3 separate regions of the Homo sapiens genome follow, and regions 1 and 3 are each linked to region 2. Evidence: promoter capture Hi-C in human tissues and cell types (Jung and others, 2019). All regions are on one chromosome and are shown on one strand. The core of a region is centred on a gene start or on the middle of the fragment in contact, and the rest is flanking DNA. Distances in the headings are between cores, read along the strand shown.

What was found. The method cuts DNA at HindIII sites, captures the fragments that hold promoters and counts their contacts. A contact is called where the count stands out against the background at its distance.
Region 1: a contact is called between a fragment that was not itself captured here and the fragment with the promoter of CTIF in region 2, in 1 of the 25 tissues and cell types used here (dorsolateral prefrontal cortex).
Region 3: a contact is called between a fragment that was not itself captured here and the fragment with the promoter of CTIF in region 2, in 2 of the 25 tissues and cell types used here (mesendoderm cells and thymus).

Annotation. Positions count from the first base shown.
Region 1 is chr18:48,857,450-48,860,309 of GRCh38, forward strand. It overlaps CTIF (cap binding complex dependent translation initiation factor), which reads left to right. Exons shown (of 12, transcript NM_014772.3): 11 at 139-192; 12 at 1,895-2,860. The coding sequence ends at 2,110. Among named protein-coding and RNA genes, the nearest start is that of CTIF-AS1, 17 kb to the left of the region's middle. RefSeq lists an enhancer at 257-758. The HindIII fragment of the contact is 4,424 bases long and covers 1-2,860 here.
Region 2 is chr18:48,537,781-48,540,480 of GRCh38, forward strand. It overlaps CTIF (cap binding complex dependent translation initiation factor), which reads left to right and starts at 1,251. Exons shown (of 12, transcript NM_014772.3): 1 at 1,251-1,532. RefSeq lists silencers at 1,357-1,436, 1,937-2,296. The HindIII fragment of the contact is 11,515 bases long and covers 1-2,700 here.
Region 3 is chr18:48,878,711-48,881,506 of GRCh38, forward strand. No RefSeq gene overlaps it. Among named protein-coding and RNA genes, the nearest start is that of CTIF-AS1, 38 kb to the left of the region's middle. The HindIII fragment of the contact is 4,384 bases long and covers 1-2,796 here.

The DNA of each region.
Region 1 (2,860 bases), core at 355-2,854, 320 kb after region 2:
CTAGCCTGAACCTTGGAGATGTTTGTTACAGGCCGCATCAGGGCTGGGGCTGCAGGTCGGCGGGGGCTGCAGGGAGCTACAGGGCCCAGTAGCCGGCATGTCTCCTTCAGTGGTGCTCTCTGCCCCTCTCTTCCACAGCTCTTGCAATCTCAGGATGTGAAGGAAGATGCTGTCCTTTGCTGCTCTATGGAGGTAAGCTTTGGGGCTTCGACATCCCCAACCTCAAAGCCGGTGCATCTCTCATGCCTTAACAGTTCTAGGGGCACGAGGGTTGTTGGAGGCATTTACAAGTCCAGGGGAAGGTAGGTGGATGGCTTCAGGAGTGGGCATGGACTTCTGCATCCAGAATTATCCACCCCAAGCCAGAGTGAACACTGATGGTGAGAGCAGCTCACCCCTGACTGAAGGGAGAGAGAAGTGATTCCCAGTGGCATTGCCTACTTCCCTGTCCCCCAAAGACCCCCTGCGCCCCAGCTCAGGCATGCCACACAAATGACTTAAGAAGTTCCTGATTACCTCTGCCCTCAAATATTTCCCTTTGCTTTGCTAATGCTTGGCAATGCAGTGCTGGCACAGCCCACCCGAAAGCACACCTCTTGGGAGGTGCCACTCCTGTCCCTAAGCTGTGGCCCCTGCTAATGGAGACTCTTCCTCTGGGCTCTCCCTTTAGCGCCTGGCTTTGGCCCAGTCCCTGGGCAGATCTCTGCCCTCTGCAGATGGTCCAGAGTCACTCAGAGTGGGATGCAGGCAGGAGAGGGGCTTCCAGACGAGGACCTGGGCCTGGCAGCTGTCATAAGCATACTCAGGTGGCTTCCGCCTGGCTGCAAAGGCCTCACTGAGGAGCTCAGAGGCCAGAAGCACTGGGAGCCAGATGGCAGTCTTGGGTCTGTGGGACTCAGTTTGTTTGTTGGCCTCCAGCTGGGCACCCTACAGGGGGCTTGGGATTAGGGGGGAATTAGGGAGAAGGAGAAAGCCTGGTCCTTGCCCTCAGGCAGCTTCCAGTCTGGTTAGGAATAGCTCTCAGAGAGTAGATAGAATAAGTGTAAGTACAGAGACATCCCTGAAGAGTCAGGGGAGAGAGGTCAGGAAGGGCTCAGGGGTTCAAGGGAGGCTTTGTGAAGAAGGCAGAGACTAGAAAAATGAATGGGACAAGGCTGGGGACCGAGACGGGGACTGAGATTCTATAGAGAGGGCCTGGGGGGCACTGGCCAGGGGTGTGCTGGTCCAGGAATAGGGGCTCCTTCCCAGTGGGCTTTTCAAGATTATCTAGGGCTCTCCTGACGGCCTCTGGCTGGCCTTCTTCCCCAGTTTGTATTTCTCTCCCCCACTTCCTGTCACAAGCATGAGCAGAGGTCACTTCTGGGGGCTGGGAGATGGGATCAGGATCAGGAGAAAAGGAGAGCGAGAGAAACAGGAGGCATCACCCCTGCTCTCAAGTTCCAATGGACACATGTAATAATGACTAAGCTCATTGCCAGAGAGACGCCCCAGCAAGTGAAAATGACCACAGGGCCCCCTGATCACCAAGGGGCACAGATCATGGAGCCATTTGAGGGTGCGGATGTAGTCAGGGAAGGCTTCCTGGAAGAGGGAGGCTCTTGGGTAAAAGGGACAAGAGGCATGTTCCTGGTGACAGCTCTTTCAGCCCTGGGCAGTAGGCAATATTCGGATCCCTCTGGATCCTGCTGGCAGATTGGTTGGTAAATGTGAGCTCTCACTCTTGGCTACTCCACCTTCCACTCTCCCTGTCCTCATTCCAGCTGTGGCACAGGGGTCTGGGCCTGTGTGTCCTTAAGACAACCCAGCTATTTCCTATCCCTGCCCACCTAATCAGGGTGGCCAGTGGGCCACTGTGGGACCCGAGGCCATCCTAACCCCACATCTCTGTCTGCAGCTGCAGAGTACAGGCCGGCTGCTGGAGGAACAGCTGCCTGAGATGATGACAGAGCTCCTGGCCAGCGCACGGGACAAGATGCTGTGCCCCTCGGAGTCCATGCTGACCCGGTCGCTGCTCCTAGAGGTCATCGAGCTCCACGCTAACAGCTGGAACCCTCTGACGCCCCCCATCACGCAGTACTACAACAGAACCATCCAGAAACTGACAGCCTGACAGCCAGGGGGCCTGGCAGGCGGCCCACGGGCAGCTGGGGCCCTGGTGCACAGGGCCAGATGGACAGGCGGGAGGACAGGGGTGGCCCTGGCGGGAGAAAGAAATGGGGAGGAGGGCAGGCAGAGTCGGTGGCCAGTCTGGAGCCAGACGGGGAAGGGAGCAAATCCCTGAGAGGAGTGCCCCCGCACAAGCCCCCCAGCCCGAGCATGCAAGCTCACACCAATAAGGGAAGCATGTTTCTTTTTCCTGGTGGCCCTGGCCCTCCCCTTCCTCACTCCCGCCTCTCCCCTCCCCATCAGACCCATCCCCCACGGAGCTTTGTGTGAGGGATCTCATCGCTGTGACTCCTCGGAGACCTTGGCAGCCTCGCACGCCGGGGCACCGCTTGGGTCAGAAAGGACCTCGGAAGGCTGAAAAAGTGGGTCGGAGACGGGCTCGCATTGTTCCCGCATGCTGTCAGCCGCAGTCGCCAACTGGCAGCAGGCGACGTGTAGCAGATGTCCGGGAGGACAAAGGCAGGCACGGTCCCCACCAGCCGCCCGTAATTGACGGCCTTTGTCAGCCATGGCAGAGCTGACGCTCCACCTCCCACCTCCAAGTCCTCCTCACTGCAGCCCCCACAGCCTCAGGCCTAGGGGGTCAGGCGCAGCGGGGGAGATGGAGTTTGCAGTTCCACTTGCACTCTTTTGTTTATTGTGTTTTATTTTTCAAAAGTCGGTTGCTTTGAAGTCTCTTTGGCCAATGAAAATG
Region 2 (2,700 bases), core at 1-2,500:
AAAAAAAAAAAATTGGCCAGGTGTGGTGGCGGGCGCCTGAAGTCCCAGCTACTTGGGAGGCTGAGGCAGGAGAATGGCATGAACCAGGGAGGCAGAGCTTGCAGTGAGCCAAGATCACGCCACTGCACTCCAGCCAGGGCAACAAAGAGAGACTCAGTCTCCAAAAAAAAAAAAAAAGAAAAAAAAACTTAGAAATTCTTTGCTCAAGTATCACTTCCTCCAGGAAGTCTTCCTGACCCTCTCCCAGACCCCACCCACCCTCCATCCAGTTGGCTGCTCCAGGTTGTGTGGTGGGGGGAATTTCACAGCACTTTGTGTTAAGCGCTGACTTATCCCTTGTATAATACTTTCATTGACTGTAGTCCCTAATACTGGACTGAGCTCCTTGAGCGCAGAGACTGTGAGTCTTACCTGTTTTGGCATTCCTAGACACACCTGGTCTGTGGAAAGTGCTCACTAAATGTGAATATAAACTAATGAATAAATGGGTTTCTACAGCAGTTTATACTGCATCACACAGTTCCTCTAATGAATTTCTAGCCCCCTTCCCTGTTGGGGCATACAGTATTTTATTCAGTATTTCTCCTGAAGGCCTCTCTGTGCCAAGCTCAGTTTTAACCAAAACATTGGTGATCTGGTTAAGTCATTACTGAATTATCCACTACGTTGAATTCTCCCAACCACCCCGTCCCAGCCCTTAGCTTGGCCGAAGGAAAATTAATTGGTTGCAAAGTGCGTATCTAATTACAACAGCCAGCCCCCGACACAGAGATGCTCAAATGTTAATTATAACATATGCATCTCAATAACCGACGGTGGCATTTAGTGCAGCATTAATCACGCCACTTGGGCCCCCCAGTGCATACACAAAGCTCCTTTTCATCTGCCATTAGCACAGACTTTGCACTTTCGGCACGGACGTTCTCATCCTTAAAGCCTTTCGGACTCTAAAACCAACGTTTCCCTGTAAGCCTGGACTGCGCCTAAGCCCCCAGTTCTCCCACCGCAGAGGCCCCCACCCAGGGCTGCGCCAGCGCCGTGGGGTCGCTGGGCGGCGGGTTTTGGCGTCGCTAGACTGGGCTGTCTTGGCAGCTAAGGCGACATCCCGAGCGTCCTGGGGCCACCCTGCTCTCCAGGGCCCGCCATCCTGGAAAAGAAAGGCGAACTACATTACCCAGCAGGCCTCCAGCCGCCCTCTTTCCTTTCAAGTCTTTGCACGTGGCCGGAGGGGAGGGCGGGGCCTGAACGTCACTCTCCTACATTCTCTTTCCCTGTGTCAGATCAGGGATCATTTTTTTTCCTTCCTCTACTCCCTCCCCCCTACCCGCCCCTCCCTCCCTGTTTCCCTTCCCTCCCTCCCTCCCCTCTCTGCTGGGTCTGTGCGCTGGGGCGCCCGATCCCCTCCGCAGCTGGGACGCTCCGAACTCGAGGCAGGAGTCGGCTCTCCGGAGCCTCGTCCCTCCCTTCCCCTTCCCTGCCCCCTTCCCCCACCCCCGACTCGGGCTTGGCGCGGCGGCCAGAGGAACCCCGAGGTGAGCATCTCCTCGCCCGTCCTCCTCTTATAGTCATCTCAGCTTGCTGATCGATTCGGGGACCCGGGAGGAGGGCTGCGTGACGTGGGCGTGCTTATAGATAAATCCGGGAAAACCGCCCCAAACAATCAGCCCCCTTCCCCCCATCCCTGCTCCTGGGCCAGCGGGGTGTCCGCACCCATCTACCATCCCCTCCTCCCCCTCGGTGGGGAACTGCACTCCACAGTGTCGCCCCCTCCCTGGGTTTGTCCCATTCCCTGCCGGGTTCCCCGCCCCGCGGGGTGTCGTGGCCCTGGAGCTCCGGCGCCAAGGGGGGCTCTTGGGGGACGCACGGCTGGAGCCCGGCTCGCTTTGGAGCTGCGCGGTGTAGCCGCTGTCATGTGCCGGGTTCCGACCTGGGAGGAGGAAAAGAGCGAGCGCGATTCCTCTCCCTTTTGTTTTGAAGCCCGCATTTGCTGCATCGAGCAGTTGGTTTAGTATCAGCCAAACTTGCAGCTGTTCAGACCGCGCTCCGCCGAGGTAGGGAGCCCGTCTCGGGGTGGCGTTTGGGGGCCGGGGGCTGCGGCACTCGGGGCTGCGGGAGGGACCCCGAGAGTGTGTCGCCACGCCGCCCCTCCCTTCCCCGGTGACTGATTGTGTCTGTGGCAGCGGGCGTGTGTGAGTGTGCGCGCCCGTCCCCGCGGGCTCGGGGATGTCTGTGGATGGCTGTCGTCTAGACAGGGCGCAGCCCCCTCCCTGCGTCCCCGGTGAGCCCGCGGGCCGCGGGGGGAGCGGGGGATGGGAGCAGAGGAAGAAACCAAATCGGTGGACCCGTTGCGGTCTCCCCTTTGGTTATTCCCAACGGTTGTGGTTCTGTTGGCTTTTTTTATTATTCCTGTCGCTGCGGTGCAATCGGGCCTGGGGAATAGATACGCCCGGCGGAGAGGGGTTCACTTGACAGGCTCTGAAAAGCCACCTCTGGGTGGCGAGTGACCCGAGAGGCCGTGGGGTGGGCTCCGGCTCGGGTTCATCAGGACGACGAGCAGGTAACTGTCCCGGGCGCCGGTCATGGGGGAGGGCGGGCGGGGGGGCGATGGCTTGGGCTGCGGCGAAGGTCTGGGGCCTCGGAGGGCCGCGTGCCGGTGCCTGGATGTGGCCGGAGGGGGCGTCCGGGACACCGCGCGCCTGA
Region 3 (2,796 bases), core at 191-2,690, 340 kb after region 2:
AGGTCAGACTCCAGGTCTGCAGGAGCACCCCCGAACCTGGTCATGAACGGGTGTGAGCCTGTGTGTGAGAGAAAGAGAAAACAAATGTGCACACGACAGGGAATTTGGTGTGTGAGACAAGAGAGTGCTCGTGTTTTTGAGAGTGTGCGTCTAAGAAAAAAAAAATTGTAAGGATTTTGTGTGTGGGGTAGAATATGTACACGGAGAGACCTTTCTGATTCTGAGAGGATGTTCTTGTAGGTGGACTTGCTGATTCCGAAACTAAACAAGAATCTCCTCATCCTCAGGCCGGGGGCACCCAGGGCAGCCTGAGCAGGGAGAAGTTGCCCCGGCAGCCTCCTGTCTCCTTTCGAGGGACTGGTGGCGCCTTCCTGCCCCCTCCAACATGGACTCAGGGTCTTCGCTTCAAAGTGCTGAGCCGGGGCCTGGGAATTCCCACACACCCACCCCCGCCACCCCTGCCTCACCTGGCGGTTGCCTCAGAACCAGAAGCCACACAAATATGCCGCCGAGCCGGTGGGGCGGCTTTCCTGTCAGCGGCTGCCCTGAGAGGGCCAGATCTCCATTATTCATGGTCCTTCGGTGAGTGACACCCACCCCCTAACCTTGAGGGATTTTCGAGAATGCTGGCTGGAGGGCTCTGGGTACCCTGCTCAGGCTGGAAAAGGCTTCCCCTTCACACACTGGCTGGTTTCTCCAGTCGGCCCCCAACAAGCTGTGGGTGGCTTCAGGAAGCCCCTCCCTGGCCAGGCGAGGTAATGTTGGGAGACCGACAAGGCAACCAAACCCTATGCCCAAGATTCTTGACCTTTTGGGGAGGTCCCAGACCTCTCTGAGAGTCTGAGAAATTGAATAGATCCTTTCTCTAGAAAAATTCTCTACAAATTTTTACTGTAATGTCAGAAGCTTTTGAGTCCATTCCTCAGTTCCATATGGGTCCTCAGACCTTGGTTAAGGGCAATGGAACCCCCAACACCAAAGCGCTGAAATTGCCAAAATTATAGCCCTGGCAGCAGGAAACTCCACTAGAATCTCAACACATAGAAGATACTGGGAACATTCTGGTGAATGAACGTGTTCCCCACCAGCTGTGATGTGAGTGGTGAGCAGGCAGGACTCCCTGGAGTCTGGCCTCCACCACAAACAACTTTGGGACTTGAAGCTTTATTTATTCACTCAATGCTTCTTTTTGGTTTTGATTTTGGTTGGGTTGTTTTTGTTTTTGTGTTTTGTTTTTCTGGGATGGGAATCTCACGATGTTGCCCAGGCTGGAGTGCAGTGGCTATTCACAGATGTGACCACAGCACACTACAGCCTCGAACTCCTGGGCTTCAGCCATCCTCCCGGCTTAGCCTCCTGAGTGGCTGGGATTACAGGCTGCACTACCACACCTGGCTTCAGTGGTTGTTACTGCCTACAGACTTTGTGCCAGGCATGGCCATATGATGAGGATATAAAATAGATGTATAGACACATTTTCTGCCTTCATGTTGCTTATAGTCTAGGGTGAACGAGAAAATTAATTGAACACCTAAGTACATATGTAATTCTATGAAGTGGCCAGGGATTATGACTAAACCCCTAGGGCTTCAGTTTCCTCATCTATAAAATGAAGATAACTATAGTTACTTGCTAGTCTTTCTATGAGGATGAAATGAGACCACTTATGTTAAGCACTGAGCGTGGAGCCTGCACAAGAGGGAGCTACAGAAGGCATGGCGTGTGAGTGAGGCTGGTCAGCAGACAGAAGTGAGCCTGGCCACTCTGTGATGGCAGAGCCTTGGCAAAAACCAGGCCACTACCATCTTGACCAGCCTGGATGCTGGGGCTGGAAGGGTAGCCATTTTAGAGGCAGCCTCCAGGCCATGAACATCACTAGGCAGCAGCCAAGCCCTGTATGAATGGGGAGCAAGTGGTCAGAGTAGGAGGAGGCCAAAGCTGACCCTTTGAATGGCCAAGTTGAAGCAGGGGACTGGAATGACTTCTCAGCAGGGGTGGGTTTTAAGATCTGTGCCAATTTCTACTTCTGGCTACAGTAGACTAGCTTATATATCACACCAACTTTGCCACCAACCGAAAAAAGAGATAAAATACATTTTTAAAATTTGAATCTAGAAAGATGAGCTTAACATTTGGCCCTACTTTTCCCCTAAGCAGTAGCATGAAGTTCAGAATGTGAGCAGGAAGTGGAGACTGAGGTTTTTGCAACCTCCTGGAGTTAGAGAAAGAGGAAAGGGGAGAACTCAAGCATCTCCAAGTGGAGAGATGGCTTGTTTAGAAAAAAAAAAAACTGTCAGTTAGGACCCTTGAAGCACAAATCAGAAATAGGTCAGCCCTCACAAAGGTTGAAGTGCAGCTTCAAACAAACTTAATCCCACATGGGATTAAAGTGCGCTGCCTCTACTCTATCTCCCTTCCAGAGTCAAGAGTAAATCCTCTCTGGATTATTCAGAGCCTCAAATTATCTCTACAATCCTTCCATATACCATGTCTGGAAGTCAATAACATTTACCAGGCATGACAGGAGATAAGATCATATGACTGAAACTAAGAGGTGGAAAAAAAACACAGCTAATAGGAATAAACCTGAAGGAGATCCAGATATTATTATTTAAAATAGCAGACTTTAAAATAATTGTGATTGATATGTTCAAAAAAATTGGAGAGATAAATAATTTAAGGAGAACTGGAAACTCCTAAAGGTTATCAAATGGAAGTTCTAGGCAAATACAAAATACTACAAAAAATAATCATCATCATAATTAACAAGCAATGAATGGGTTTAACAGCAGATTA